5 separate regions of the Homo sapiens genome follow, and regions 2, 3, 4 and 5 are each linked to region 1. The links are contacts of gene promoters, found by promoter capture Hi-C in blood cells and fetal thymus (Javierre and others, 2016). All regions are on one chromosome and are shown on one strand. The core of a region is centred on a gene start or on the middle of the fragment in contact, and the rest is flanking DNA. Distances in the headings are between cores, read along the strand shown.

Region 1 (2,985 bases), core at 80-2,579:
AGTCTCAAAAAGAAAAATAATCAAATAAAAATAACAGGGTAAGCACACTGGAAAATGATAACTGGCACTCAGCTTCTGTGTCAAGAAGACACTAGGAATTAGTATTGTCAACAAACTGAAAAGTATATACCTTGTTTAAAATGGGCAGCCATTACTCAGCTTCAGCCAGTTCACTATGAAGACCCAATACTGCCAAATCTTCTAATTTTTCAAGAGAAGATAGATTTTTTGTGCATGCATATAAGTAATCTCCTAAGTTTAAATGTTTGCCAATAGAACCCCTCAAAAAGAAAAGTTACACACTGGTGGATTAATGCTGTACAGCATTAACCAATGCAAGGTAAAATGACTACAGGCCAAATCTGACCCAAGGCTCATTGGTTTCCAGCTAAGATTTTGGATCTCAATCCTGACTATGAGCAACAAGACCTTTCGGCTTTTTTAAAAGATAGCATGCCTGAGCCCTAGTCCAGTTCTGATTTCCTAGATTTGGACGAGTCCTGGGCATCTACATATTCTTGTAAAGTGCCAGAGTTCATTCTGGTTCACAGCCAGGGTTAAAAAGTAGGAAATTAAATTTCAAGTCATAGTACCTTATCACATTTCCAAACTTCAACACCATGTCCAGAACACTGAATTCTCCCCAGGCTCATTCTACCTGATTCTGAGCTCAAATAGTCATGTGGGATCTCAGTAAGCTGAAATTGATGACACATACACAAACAATAAAAACTGGGACTATGGAGACTTCCTTCTCTCCAACTCGAATAGCATCCAATTTTGGCTTTTCTATATACTATTCGAGGACATTATAATAGCAGGCCTTTTTGGAAGAAACTCAATTCTAAGTAAAAGATGTTCATATATGAGCTTATGGGAATTTCTTATTCACAAACATGGTAACTATCAAAATAAAACTCTCTCCCAAAATAAGAGAGACAAGAAAAGAAGTGGGGAAAACAGATTTTAAAAGCTGTATGAGCTTTTACAAATAATTTAGCAGGTAACAGAGATCTTGTGAGACAAGTAAAAAGGCCTTGTATTCATTGCTTATCAGGTAAATGTGGACTTAAAGTAAATAAGGTAAGAAGGTGTTGAGCTAGAAACATGTCTCAAATTATTTCCAGTGAGCTTCTGAAAGCCCAAGACAAATGTATCTTTATGAAAAATTGAGACAGACCCAGTAACCAGATCCTCTCATTATTTGCATGTGAAGCCTCTAACTTGTAGTCATGTGATAAACAAATGGAGAAAAATTGGAAATAACCATTAATGAGGGCGGCAGAAATTATAACATTGAGCAAGGGTCAGAAGATTGCAGAGCAGTTACCCATTCTTGGCGCAGAAACCTGAAAGTCAGGATCAAAGAGAATGGCAACGGTGAACACAGATGCCACAGATAAAGACATATCCAAGTTCAAGGTCACCTTCACTTTGGTGGTCTCCGGAATAGAGTGCATCACTGGCATCCTTGGGAGTGGCTTCATCACGGCCATCTATGGGGCTGAGTGGGCCAGGGGCAAAACACTCCCCACTGGTGACCGCATTATGTTGATGCTGAGCTTTTCCAGGCTCTTGCTACAGATTTGGATGATGCTGGAGAACATTTTCAGTCTGCTATTCCGAATTGTTTATAACCAAAACTCAGTGTATATCCTCTTCAAAGTCATCACTGTCTTTCTGAACCATTCCAATCTCTGGTTTGCTGCCTGGCTCAAAGTCTTCTATTGTCTTAGAATTGCAAACTTCAATCATCCTTTGTTCTTCCTGATGAAGAGGAAAATCATAGTGCTGATGCCTTGGCTTCTCAGGCTGTCAGTGTTGGTTTCCTTAAGCTTCAGCTTTCCTCTCTCGAGAGATGTCTTCAATGTGTATGTGAATAGCTCCATTCCTATCCCCTCCTCCAACTCCACGGAGAAGAAGTACTTCTCTGAGACCAATATGGTCAACCTGGTATTTTTCTATAACATGGGGATCTTCGTTCCTCTGATCATGTTCATCCTGGCAGCCACCCTGCTGATCCTCTCTCTCAAGAGACACACCCTACACATGGGAAGCAATGCCACAGGGTCCAGGGACCCCAGCATGAAGGCTCACATAGGGGCCATCAAAGCCACCAGCTACTTTCTCATCCTCTACATTTTCAATGCAATTGCTCTATTTCTTTCCACGTCCAACATCTTTGACACTTACAGTTCCTGGAATATTTTGTGCAAGATCATCATGGCTGCCTACCCTGCCGGCCACTCAGTACAACTGATCTTGGGCAACCCTGGGCTGAGAAGAGCCTGGAAGCGGTTTCAGCACCAAGTTCCTCTTTACCTAAAAGGGCAGACTCTGTGACTGGAACTCACGGAGTTCTGCGGGACCTGGTCCAACCACTTCTGCCTTTGCCTCAGGTAGAACTCTCTCCTCACCCGTCTCTTCTCTCCCAAACCTGCTCTGACACTTCTCAGATAACGTGATCCTTTTATAAATATGAAGCTGAATTTTTAACTTGAGATTCTAAACAGAAGTAACTAAGAAACCTGAAGATGGACTTTGAAAGCTCCTTGAACTATGTTCATTCATATCCTGCCCTGAGATCTCTCCACTTTCTTCTCCTCCTGAGCCTTAAGGAGAGGGTGGCCAGACATATCGGTTTGCCAGGGACAATCTCTGTTTATTGTCTGTTGTCAATTGAGCATCCTTTAATTCTCAAGAATATCATGGTCTGGATGAAGAATTACATGATCATCCTACTTAAGACACCCAACTAACACACAGTTAGGGCTGGTGAAGCAGAGCACAGCACTCAGTCCACGGGGTAGAAGGGAAACCAGAGTGGCTACAGAAAAAGAAGATTCAGGAAAGAAAGGCTGCTGGAAATTATCAAGTGCTGCAGAGTTCCGAGGAAAGTAAAGGGTGAAGAAAAAGGCTCTGGATTTGACTAAAAGGATGCCATGTGTGCCATTAGTGGAGTGATAGGGTGACATCCTGATCCCA
Region 2 (3,008 bases), core at 128-2,627, 590 kb before region 1:
CCTGACATTCCCAAACCAGCTGACTGTCAAGGACACAGCCTACTGCCTACCTATATTACCTTAGGAAACGAGACAACAGCATTGAACAGCATTCAGTCCATATTTGTGTTCTGTCTTCCTTGGACAAGTACCAACAAAATAAAATCCTATCACATTTCCTGTAAATTTTGAATGACATAAATTTTTGATTAGCAATTCTTTTTGAAGTGTTGAACTTTTTGTTCTGATTTTATATTCTACTCTCTGTGCTTTGTTGTATTTAAAATCAAGTTCACCTTTCAGAGGCAGTGATGGGTGAGGTAAGAGACAGACTCTTACATCCTCCTCCCCAACACACACACACACACACACATACACACACACACACACACACACACGGAGGCACTGTTTTTCCCAGTAATGGAGAAGCCATGGGAAGAATTTCAGAGGTTTCAAGGGAGCTAGGGTCGTCTAATTCCTCTATATCCTTGGATATCCCCATTCTTAATGTCAAAAATAATCTCTCGAACTGGTTTCCCAGAGTCTCAACCCATTTGCTATAGTACATGCACCATCTCAGGTGTCCAAAGATGAATATTTGATAAGCTACTTCTCAACTTCATACCTCTGCTGCTGTTTTTCCATTCTGGAATGTGGAAAGCAGTGTGACTCCTATTAACTGACCAGTAGTCAATTTTAACTACCCATAAATATGTGAGTGTCTTTTATCTGTAATCTCCTATCTGGTGCCATTTTTGAAAACCAGTTAAGACTCTTTTATCCTAAAAAATGAACTATGTCTAATTTCTTGAAAGTAATTATTGATGAAATACTCCCTGGAGAGTCTGAAGCCCCTGATATTGCATATTTAATTGTTATCCTCCTTTTAATAAAAGGTATAGGAAGAAATTTTAAATATTATTCCTAAATACCTTACATCAAGATGAGCTAGAGTTAATTAAGTGGGACGAGGGATAATGAATTCAAGGGCATTTAAGAAAGATTAAAGAACCAGTGCAAAATGTTTTAATCAGGAAAGAAATTAGTGTGTTTAATGACAGGAAAGAAGTCAGCAGAGTGACAGGAGCAGGGGGAGGAGGTGGTTGAGTACAGGGCAAAATTGAAGAAGGCAGGAAGGCACCAGACCACTCAGAACCTTACTGGTCAAGGTAAATGATACAGAATCCAACATAAAGCTTAATAGGAGACACTGAGGTTTTCAACATTTGACTTCTTTAGTAATCAGATTCGTGGCTGTGTGTGTATCTGTGTATTTAATCACCCTGGTCACAAAGTGAAGAAATAATGGACCATGCAGGGAAGGCAAAATGTTACCTCTACCCTCTTGCAGTTTTTCGGCTGGTCCTGAGAATGGAAGATTAACAGGAAGGAAAGCATACACATGTATTTAATACAAGTTTTACATCACATGAAAGCCCCCATAATTAAAGGAAGAACTGAATGTGCAGTTAGAGTTGAACATTCATATATTGAATTGGGCAAAGGGTCATACATTGTGGAAAGGTGAAAAAGTAAAGGGGCTTAGGCTAGGGTTGCTGGTTGAATGGCAAAGTGACTAGGAAGGTGAGGATTAGTTTAACAAGCTTTTTTTGTTACAGATTCCTTGGCCTCAACATCATCCCATTCTATCTTGGATGTTAAGAATATTCTTTTTTCCTGGTATAGATAAGACATCTTTTATATGGGAAGCTTATTCCATTTTTCAAGAAGAAAAGGGGAAGGGTCAGAGTACTCCTCTTATACTTGCTATTGTCTTTAATGCCTCTAGCTCAAAATATTCCTTATGCCAAAGTGGCATATTTTGGGCAGAGGGTTGGGAGGCTTATGCTGCCACCCTCCAGCAGTGTGAACAGAGTTGATGCGGAGGAAAAACTTAGCTCAGGCAAGCAGTAGTTTAGCTCAGATAATGATGATGGTGTTAGAAATATGGGGAAAATGAGACATTTAAAAGGAAGTAAATCAAAGGACTTGGCAATTGATTAGACATGAGCAGCAATATGCAGGGGGTGGTGGGTGGTGATTAAGAGAGACTGCTACACACAGACAAATAAGAAGGACCAAGTGGGAAGAAGATCAAGATTTACTTTGAGATTGGGAGTGCCTTAGGGACAGTAATCTAACCAGGAATATGCAGAGAGCAGTTGGATGTACAAGTCATGGACTCAGAAAATGGATCTGGATAAGAAGCACACCTTTGGGACATTTAGCATCACTGGAAGAATGAAAGTGCCTCCAATCCCTTGATATACAGTTTACAATGAAAAGATCAGAGAGCATAGGATAGCGGTTTAGGGAGCACACCTGCCTTGGGGGACTATAAAAGGTTGAGGGAGGCAAAATGCACTGATAAACCACCATCGGCATTAGACTAATGGCTGAATAATTGTGTAAGTAATTGCTAGTAACAATGCTGTGGAGTATGTGGCAGGTAGCACATCAAGTGCTGCTTTTTTCTTAATTTCGCTCTGATACCTGGAATGCCTTTTTGCTGCCTCGCTGCCGGGCGGGCCACTCCCGACTCAGGCAGGCCGAGGCAGAGCTCCGCGGGCATTGGATGAATTCGCTCCTTTGACCACTAGAGGGTGATGTGGATCTTTCTATAAAATATCTGCCGCTCATCAAGTGGGGACTCACAGCTTCACCGGATATTTCAGATGAGATGTTTAGGTACTGACTGACCAAAAAAATTGCAGATATCCTGGGAGGCCAATTGGTCTTTAAAATGGCAGGATCTAATCTTAACATTTTGTAATAACCCTTAGCGTTTACCCATATCTGGCACCTGTAGTTGTGTGATTTCTACACAGTTGATAAATATATAAATGAATAATACCGTGATTTCTATTCAACATTGTGCTGAATTTGCAACCAGTGAAACAAGGGGAAAAAGTTGAAAATGAGAAAGGAAAGAAAAATAAGTATTGGCGCACGACAAGTTTATTTATAGAGATTCAAAAGGGTCTAAAGAAGCAATGCATTATCAATAACAAAATGTAGTAAGTTTACTG
Region 3 (2,762 bases), core at 220-2,719, 930 kb before region 1:
AGAAGTCAAGTGAGTATATCAAAGTTTCATAGCTGTTAAGTGGCCAATCTATGGTTAAAACTTAAGCAGCCTCACTTCAGGGTTCATGCCCTCAACAGTGATGCCGTGAATATAATAAGAGAGAACAGGGCTGGGCGCAGTGGCTCAAGCCTATAATCCCAGCACTTTGGGAGGCCGAGGTGGGCAGATCACGAGGTCAGGAGATCAAGACCATCCTGGCCAACATGGTGAAACCCCGTCTCTACTAAAATACAAAAAAAAATAGCCAGGCATGGTGGCGGGCACCTGTAGTCCCAGCTAATCAGAAGGCTGAGGCAGCAGAATCGCTTGAACCTGGGGAGTGGAGGTTGCAGTGAGCCGAGATCACACCAACCAACTTTATCGATATTCCAAGACCTCTGGGAAACAGCAAGAGTATGATAGGAGACATCCAGACATTCATCAGGAGGATTCTTCATTTTTCAAGTATGGCAAATATTGTTGCTGAAGTTATTCATAAACATGCCTTCAGAGGGAAGTATGGGATTTACAGACCTCATCTGGTTAAGGACTACTCTTGACTTTCTTGATTTAATAGAGTTTTACTGTGATGACACAAAGCACTGTTAAACAGAGCTGCGTTACTCGAAGAATGAAATACTTTCAATACAACCAATGGATAAATTCTTCTCTCACTGTGCACATTACCTCTCTTGGCCTTTTTATAATCTAATTTCTTATCATTCATAATCAGTCCCTCAAATACTGACTCTCACCTGAGCTCTTCTCAGATCCAACTTCTACTGAACATGTCTGCTCCCATACCTAGGGTCAGCTAGTCTAGCGCTGAATTCATCATAGCTTTCTCTTTCTATATTTTCTGTCAGTGCAATGAAGCTACACACATATGGTTAGCCAAACTTGAAACACAGAAGTCACCCTTAACTTTTTTTTTTTTTTGACTGAGTTTCACTCTTATCACCCAGGCTGGAGTGCAAATGATGCGATCTCGGCCCACTGCAACCTCCTCCTCCTGGGTTCAAGCGATTCTCCTGCCTTAGCCTCCCAAGTAACTGGGATTACAGGCGTGTGCCACCATGCCGGGTTATTTTTGTATTTTTAGTAGAGATGGGATTTTGCCATGTTGGCCAGGCTGGTCTCGAACTCCTGACCTCAGGTGATCCACCTGCCTTGGGCTTCCAAAGTGCTGGGATTATAGGCCTAAGCTACCACACCTGGCCCACCCTTAACTTCTTTATCCACCTTGCTTACTACCTGTATTCAAAGTCTTGACGATTTTACCTGTCTTAAAGATCCTTGACTTTTCTTTGAAGATCCTTGATTTTCCTTTCAAGTCAACCACCTATGACTTGGTTCAGTATCACATTTTCTCTCCTGAATTATTGAAATCGTGCTAAAACCACTTCCTTGTTTGTGGCTTTATTCTCCTTCAACTCACTCTCCACATCAGAGTAATCTTTCTAAAATGCACATGGATCATTACATTTTCCGCTTAAAATGCTTTGGTGGCTCCACATTGACATCAGGATAAGTTTAAATTCCAGCACCAAAGTTCATGTTCTTGGACACTGTATGCTGTTTTAAACCTCTGTGCCTTCCCACACACCTTACCTGGTTAACTCCCATCATTCTTCAACTCTAATCGTGGAGAACTCTGAACTCCACCTGCATTCTCCAACTAAAGTCAGGCCTTCCTGAACTTTCTAGGCAGCTTTACTTTCATTACATTTACTTCCAGTCACATATTACTTGTATAAATATCTGCTTAATGTCTATTTTTTCCAGGTTGTTTAAAATTCCTGAGGGCATAAATGATGTCTGATTTGCTCACTATTACACCTCAAAGCCGGTATGTACGTGGCACATAGTAATTGCTCAGTGAATAACTGCTGAATGAATGAATGAGGTTACTTTCCCTCTTTGCTGGTGAACTTCTAGTCATCCATTAAATTTACCTGAAGTATCATCTCTATCTATAATTAATCTCTGACATTAACCTATGACCTCCCCTAACTCTACTGCCATAATGCCCCAATTGGTTAGATGCTAATCCGTTCTATTTCTTATCGGTGCCATTTTGAAACCCTGTGCATGTTGCTATTATAACTTTTGAATTTTGTTGCAGGCTTTGATTTCCTTTTCTCTTCAACTAGAATACGAGCTTCTGAAGAAAATATTGTATGTTAAAATTTCCAGTTTATGACACTGTCTCTGGCATAGAGTAGATGCTTAAGTTCTTCTGTTCTTCTTTGCCCCATTGGGCACTTAAGCCTTGTCCAAAACATCTTCACCAACAGTCATCCAGCCTCTATTCTGGACAGGAAACCACAGGACCTTCTGGAAACTTCTTCCTTCTGTCGAGCTGGAAAATCGTCTTGTTAGAGCTTTGACTCTTTTTCTCTCTGTCCTATAGCTTGGGGACATAGGATCAGGAGAGAGATAGTAAGAAGATAAGTAGACAACAAAGCGAAAAGAAGATTGTAGGTTCTAAAATAGTTAAAGATGAGTCAGATAAGTGAAAACTCCAGCCCAGCAAATATACATTTTTCTCTTTAGGTAGCAGTTACAAATTGTGAAAGGAAATCAAAAAAGTGTCTCCCTGTTACTGGGAAATAGCATGCCAGGTAGTAGTAGTCAAAGCTAATGCTGGCTTCTTTGTAGACAATTCAGCAGAAATAGTTTCTTAGAAAAAAAATACTTGGAACAGGATTAGATAGATTGCCCTAAGATCTGGCTTAGAGTACTCTCCTTCAAAAAACCTT
Region 4 (3,077 bases), core at 518-3,017, 820 kb before region 1:
TACAGAAATATTCATAAAAGTGAAAATAGTATTCAAATAAAGAATTTCTCATGATGGAAATAAAATATACATAGAAGAACAAATTCCCCTATTAAAATCAGGGAAAGAGCTTAGGAGTTTATTAGATTTCTTTCAAAACAGACCTAAAAATTATTCAACTCTGTTATAAATAATTTGTTCCTGCGGGGAAGAGAAGGGGCATGGCAGGTTAGCTCCGCAGTTCAAGCATTCAGCAGGAACAGTGACATCATCAAGTCACTGAGAGCCCAACTTCAGTCTGCCCACAGCAGGGCTGGGAGACACAAGATCCTGCCCTGGAGCTGAAATGGGCACGAGGCTCTTCTTCTATGTGGCCCTTTGTCTGCTGTGGGCAGGTGAGGGCTGGTCACAGGAGGGCCTCCTTCCCTGGAATTCCCAAGGCCTCAGTGCAGGCTTTTCTGTTGGGATGACAGCATCAGCATCTGTTGTTCTCTATTACAGGACACAGGGATGCTGAAATCACCCAGAGCCCAAGACACAAGATCACAGAGACAGGAAGGCAGGTGACCTTGGCGTGTCACCAGACTTGGAACCACAACAATATGTTCTGGTATCGACAAGACCTGGGACATGGGCTGAGGCTGATCCATTACTCATATGGTGTTCACGACACTAACAAAGGAGAAGTCTCAGATGGCTACAGTGTCTCTAGATCAAACACAGAGGACCTCCCCCTCACTCTGGAGTCTGCTGCCTCCTCCCAGACATCTGTATATTTCTGCGCCAGCAGTGAGTCCACAGTGCTGCACAGCTGCCTCCTCTCTGCACATAAAGGGCAGTTAGAATGACTGAGGTTGCCTGTGCTCCCAAGTCCCAGCCTTCACAGGAGTCGGAGAGCCCTGGCTAGCCTGGGGGCCATAGAGCAGGGGCCATATAAACCTTGATGTTGAGGTCCATTCCTACCCCAGTCTCAGACCAACTGGAGGTCACCCCAACACCCTTAGCTTCTGCAGTTCCCTCTTTCCTTTTGTAAAATGGAAAAGGCATCTTTAGTCGAGATTCCTAATTTCGTTGAAAATTTGAAACCCACCATATTCTTCTCTACCCTAAGGGCTGGGTGACTTTTCCACATACCCTTTCCCCTACCCTCTACTGCCTTTCAACTCCCAATCATAAATCTTTGCCCATGTGGTCTCTGCTCCTGGGGGCCCTTTATTCTAAGGGCAATAGACCCACGAGGTCCTATATCATTAGCCATTTACGTACCTCTTCATCATCATTTTGCACCATGTTTTCCCTGGCTCTCTGCTCCAGCCACACTCCCTTACATGCAGTTATTTCTTCATATGTGTCTGTTGTTTTCCACCCTGGGGATTGTTTATATAAATTCTTTCTTCTGCACTGAGCATACATACCACCCACTTAGTCCTACATCTCTACTTCATTTCTTAAATTAAAGTGTATTTCAGGCACACTTGCTCTTAATTGTAAAAAGCAAAAAAGAAAGTTTACTAGAAAAATTTAAGAAAAGCATTTTATGCATTCAGTTGAGGGATGACATTTTTAGAGGAGACAAAAAGCCACAAGCCAAAAGAACAACATTCATAACGCTAGTTGCATTAAATTGTTTCAAGCCAAAACACACCATAAAAAATAAAGTTAAGCTACAGCCTGGGAAAGGCATGAGGAATGCATACAAATGATGAAAAATCAGTGTGACAGAGAACATTCAGTGTAACAGAGAACATTCAGAACATCACTGAATACCTGTAGCTCCTCCATGGTTTCTGGTCTCCCTTGCAGTTGGAGGGGTGGGAACATGTCACCAGGTTCTGAATAGTGGGATAAAATGATGTCAGCTCATTTCAAGCCTGGCCCTTAAAAATATTCTGTGGCACCATGTTGAGGGTCTCTAAATGTACTCCCATGTTTAGAGTGTTGGTATATGGCATAGAGTTGTACTCATGGCTAAGATTTATTAAAGTGTCATAGTAAATACTCTGCAGCAGAACATGTGGAGAAAACACACAGGCAGAATCTGGAGGAATTCACAGGCAGGCTTCCTTATGCTCTCTTCCTCTCAGGAGGGGTCACACAGAGCTCTCTCTCCTCCCAGCAGCAAAAATGCATTAACACACGTGCAGTGTATCTGCCAAGGGAGCCCATTACAGACTTAGCACCCAAGAGGTTTTAGTAGAAGCTGGTCACACAGGCACCTACTTTTTAGCATGAACCAAAAGTCTAGATCCCAAAAGAAAATCTGATGTTCAGCATAATATTATTTGCAACACCAGCCTAGGAACGATGAGCCACCCCTGTCAGTCAGGAGAAACTTTGCATCAGTTCAGGGCACCGTTCACCAGCCAAGCTCCCAGATGTCTGCCAGAGTCCAATCTTGCAAGCAGGACTTTCTAAGCACCGCAGTCTCCAGCCTCCTGTCAACTCTTGTGCACAGACACTCTTCAACTCTCTTTTGCCATGTCCTGAACTCGGGAGCTACACGGTACAGATTGCCTAATGATAATATGGAAGCAGCCTGGCTCACTGAGTCAGAATTTGGTGGACAATCACAGAAGAAAGCTGCTCATGCCACACTGGGCTTTGTGGTCATGGGAAGTAAGACTTCATAGAGCTATGCCAGTGAGATTTTAGGATTTGTTTTGTTTGTTTTGTTTTCTGTAGCACAGCTGTTCTTGTCTAAGAGAATTAGTATCTAGAATGAGTAAAATATTCTTATTACTTAGTATTAAGAAGACAGCTCAATAAAAATAGCAATACTGAGGCTGAGTAGGCAATTCACACAAGAGTGAACATAAGTTACCACTAAACATGAGAATAACTTCGCAACCTTACTTACAATCAGAATATTGCAACCTGAAACAGTAAGTTATGATTTCAAAATTACTAGATTGGATACTTTTCCAAGGAATGACAGTCCTACATTTGAGTAGACATATGGGCTGGTGAAAATTGTTTGTATATTTATTACAAAAGATAATTACAACTACATCAGAAAACCCACTGTGGGATATATTGTGACAAACCACATTTCTGGAAAATTTATCAATGTATTTAAATCACTTGGGTTCCTTTCATTG
Region 5 (2,975 bases), core at 114-2,613, 570 kb before region 1:
GATCAGTCATGATCCAGCCATTAACCTTCTCACAGAGCACTCAGCAGTAGGCATGTATGTATATATTTAAAATCACATAAATATTACTTTTCCACTCAGCTCAAGAAAGGGAAGTGCTCCGTTTTTCTGTAAGTACATTTGGTCTTGTTGCTTCTACATGATAGAGAGTACTCATACCCATTTCTTCAGAAATACATAGCCAGATTTTCTCCAGTTTTCTGCCAGAATTGAAAATTCTTGTACAAATACCTTCATAGACTTGTATGATTGCTTTATAGGATTATATACCCAGAGCAAGTCATGATTGCTGAGACATGGAATTCTATGCATATTTTATCTATCTAAATACCACCACGGGTTCTTCAGGATCACTGTATACATCTGCAATCCCACATAAAAGTGAATAGGGTGTTTTCCTACATCCTAATATCTCCTTTAATCCTTATCCAGTGATCTAGATTGTTCTCAGTCTAGCAATGTAAAGAGATTCCAATCTCTGTCTCTCTTTCTCTCCACCCCCCACCCCTGCAACCCTCTCACCTACTGCCAGAATATCATCAGTGTTTACCATAAAGATACAGGTGACAATTTTTTAAAACTAAATAAAACCAATAATTTAAAGGAACTGAGAGATTACGTTATACTACTATAATAATAACTGGCAGCAATCTAGAAGGCTGAATAATGTTCTCTCCCTCCTTTTCTTTCCTTTGCAATTTTCTAATTACTAATGAGTTTGAGCACTTCTTCATGTGATAGTGGTCCTGGATTTCTGTTCTCAAAATGGCCTATCCATATCCGCTGGCAAATTCTCTATTGACAGTTCTATATTTTCCTCAATGATTTGTAGGGGGTCCTGAGATATACAAGATATTAGTCTCCTTTCTGAAACTTTAGGCACTGGAAATACCACCACCCAATATGGCACCACCTCTGTCCCAGACTTCAAAGAATCAGTAGATGTGGGAGGAACCAGGTGATCTCTTACCTTAGCAGGTGCATGCGTGTTATCTCCATTATGTGAATGAGACTTCTATCTTTCACTTCCACTCTGCTGAGTGCTCAACTTGCTGTCTCTTCCATTATTACTCATGTCTTTAAGCAGCATAGAAAAGTTACCAGCCATGGCTGTCCCCAAACTACTATCACCCACTGACAACCCTTTCCATCCAGAACTGCTGAAAAAATGCTTCACTCCATTTAGCTGTGCTTTTTTACAATATGGGGCAAATTTGATTCAAATTAATTCTTATTGCTCTTTTCTAAGTGAATTATGCTGCCTGGTTATAGCAAAGGACAGAAAAACTTCACACATCTTTTTGGAAGACTTAATACTTGCCCACACATTATCTCTTTTAGGGCCAAATTCCATCCACTGCAAACACCTATCTCCTTGAGCTCTTGATATGACAGCTGATCCATTTTGATTTCACAAATGCTTACAGAGCAACTCCCATTCACTGAGACATAAAGGCATTCAGAAACTTTCAGCTACACTACATGGAATTTTGGTCTCTGGGGAAAGGGAGAAGAGTAAAAAGAACCATCAAAATGTATTTCAAATAATGTGTATAAGGATGACAAAATATAGATTACTTTCATGAAAAACATTAGAACATTATATTGTCTTTGGGAGTGATTTATCAGTGGATAAATTAAAACAAATTCCTGAGGAAGTTTGGGAAAAAAATAAATTTAGGAAAACAAATTTTAAATGATTTCCTGAAAACCATCAGGGTTTACCATAAAGTTAACAATTGAAAAAAATCAAATAATTTAATAGTGAATGAGAATATGAATACAGAAAATTCATATGAATATGGAATGAAATATTAGTAAAAATGTGTTTGAGAACACTTACAAATGAATTTTGTTGTCCAATTTGATTAAGAGTCTAGTCAAAGTGTTACTCTTTTAAACTACTTGTAATAGTGTCAGTTTGACAATCTGGAACAAAAACCTTTAAAATGCTTATTTTTGGGAATTTGGCTCTAAATCAAAATAGATAGTTGTTACTGTACTTGTTCTATTGCCTTAAGCCACTATAAAACTTGACAAAAATTGTAAGACAACTATGTTCAGACATCAGACAACAGGCAGTACACGTCGCCATCTCTGGGAAAGAGGAAACCTAGAAGGGGAATTTCGCTATTGTCCTAAGACTCTGCCTTGGTATGACTTCTGGGCTGCACCACAAGTATATGAAGCCCAAGCAGTGGGCAGTGGTCTACCCAGCATAGGGAGGCAGAGATTGAGTTCAGAAGTATGGACATGGCTGATAGTGATAGGGATAAGCTACTGCAGAGAAGGAAGCTATGCAGAATAAGACCTCCAAATATTTTATGAGGTCCCCTTAAGTCTTTGGTCAAAAACTAAGCAGCAAATGCATGGGAAACGCCTCCATAAGACCTGGCAGAGAACAGTTGCTGGGTAGTTGTGAGAGGAATAGAGATTCTGACAGTCATACGAGCATGGGAGACATGAATCCTGACTGGGCAGAGCTGAGAGGCCTTGCTGAAACCCCTGGGAATGCAGCTGGCACCACATAAGGGTCACATCTCAAGAGAAGGACTACCAACGTCCTAGAGTAAACCACTCCAGAACTGCCCTAACAAAGTTCAGCAAGTCTCAAAAGGATGTCGCTGATCTTCCAATAAGTTCACTGCCTTTTGAAGAAAAATATCTCAGCACTCTCTAAATAAAGGCAAATATAAACATATACATATATATAATCTGTAGATATATAAGTCTGTAGAGAGATATGTATCTCTAGAGTGTCAACAATGCAGCATCTACAATTTTGATCTTGACATGAAAAAAAATATTAGACATGGGAAGAACTAGGAAATGTTACACATGGGAAAAAAATAAACAATAAAAACCAACCCTGAAATAATACAAATGTTGGAAATTTCAGATGAGAATTTTCAAGCAGTTATTATAGAAATATGTTCAAGAATTTGGAGGAAAATATG

What was found. The method cuts DNA at HindIII sites, captures the fragments that hold promoters and counts their contacts. A CHiCAGO score of 5 or more calls a contact.
Region 2: a fragment that was not itself captured here is called in contact with the fragment with the promoter of TAS2R40 in region 1 in 2 of 17 cell types (total B cells and naive B cells); the score reaches 10.9 in total B cells.
Region 3: a contact is called between a fragment that was not itself captured here and the fragment with the promoter of TAS2R40 in region 1, in 4 of 17 cell types (naive CD8 T cells, naive CD4 T cells, fetal thymus and 1 more). The highest score is 7.6, in naive CD8 T cells.
Region 4: a fragment that was not itself captured here is called in contact with the fragment with the promoter of TAS2R40 in region 1 in 1 of 17 cell types (naive CD4 T cells); the score reaches 5.8 in naive CD4 T cells.
Region 5: a fragment that was not itself captured here is called in contact with the fragment with the promoter of TAS2R40 in region 1 in 1 of 17 cell types (total B cells); the score reaches 6.3 in total B cells.

The regions. Positions count from the first base shown.
Region 1 is chr7:143,220,708-143,223,692 of GRCh38, forward strand. TAS2R40 (taste 2 receptor member 40) reads left to right here and starts at 1,330. Exons shown (of 1, transcript NM_176882.2): 1 at 1,330-2,372. The coding sequence starts at 1,372. The coding sequence ends at 2,343. The HindIII fragment of the contact is 3,585 bases long and covers 1-1,833 here.
Region 2 is chr7:142,630,123-142,633,130 of GRCh38, forward strand. It overlaps TRB. Among named protein-coding and RNA genes, the nearest start is that of PRSS1, 120 kb to the right of the region's middle. RefSeq lists an enhancer at 2,431-2,725. The HindIII fragment of the contact is 408 bases long and covers 1,174-1,581 here.
Region 3 is chr7:142,292,862-142,295,623 of GRCh38, forward strand. No RefSeq gene overlaps it. Among named protein-coding and RNA genes, the nearest start is that of PRSS58, 36 kb to the left of the region's middle. The HindIII fragment of the contact is 5,747 bases long and covers 1-2,762 here.
Region 4 is chr7:142,399,603-142,402,679 of GRCh38, forward strand. It overlaps TRB and TRBV10-1. Among named protein-coding and RNA genes, the nearest start is that of MIR11400, 73 kb to the right of the region's middle. The HindIII fragment of the contact is 5,689 bases long and covers 1-3,077 here.
Region 5 is chr7:142,646,891-142,649,865 of GRCh38, forward strand. It overlaps TRB. Among named protein-coding and RNA genes, the nearest start is that of PRSS1, 100 kb to the right of the region's middle. The HindIII fragment of the contact is 4,372 bases long and covers 1-2,975 here.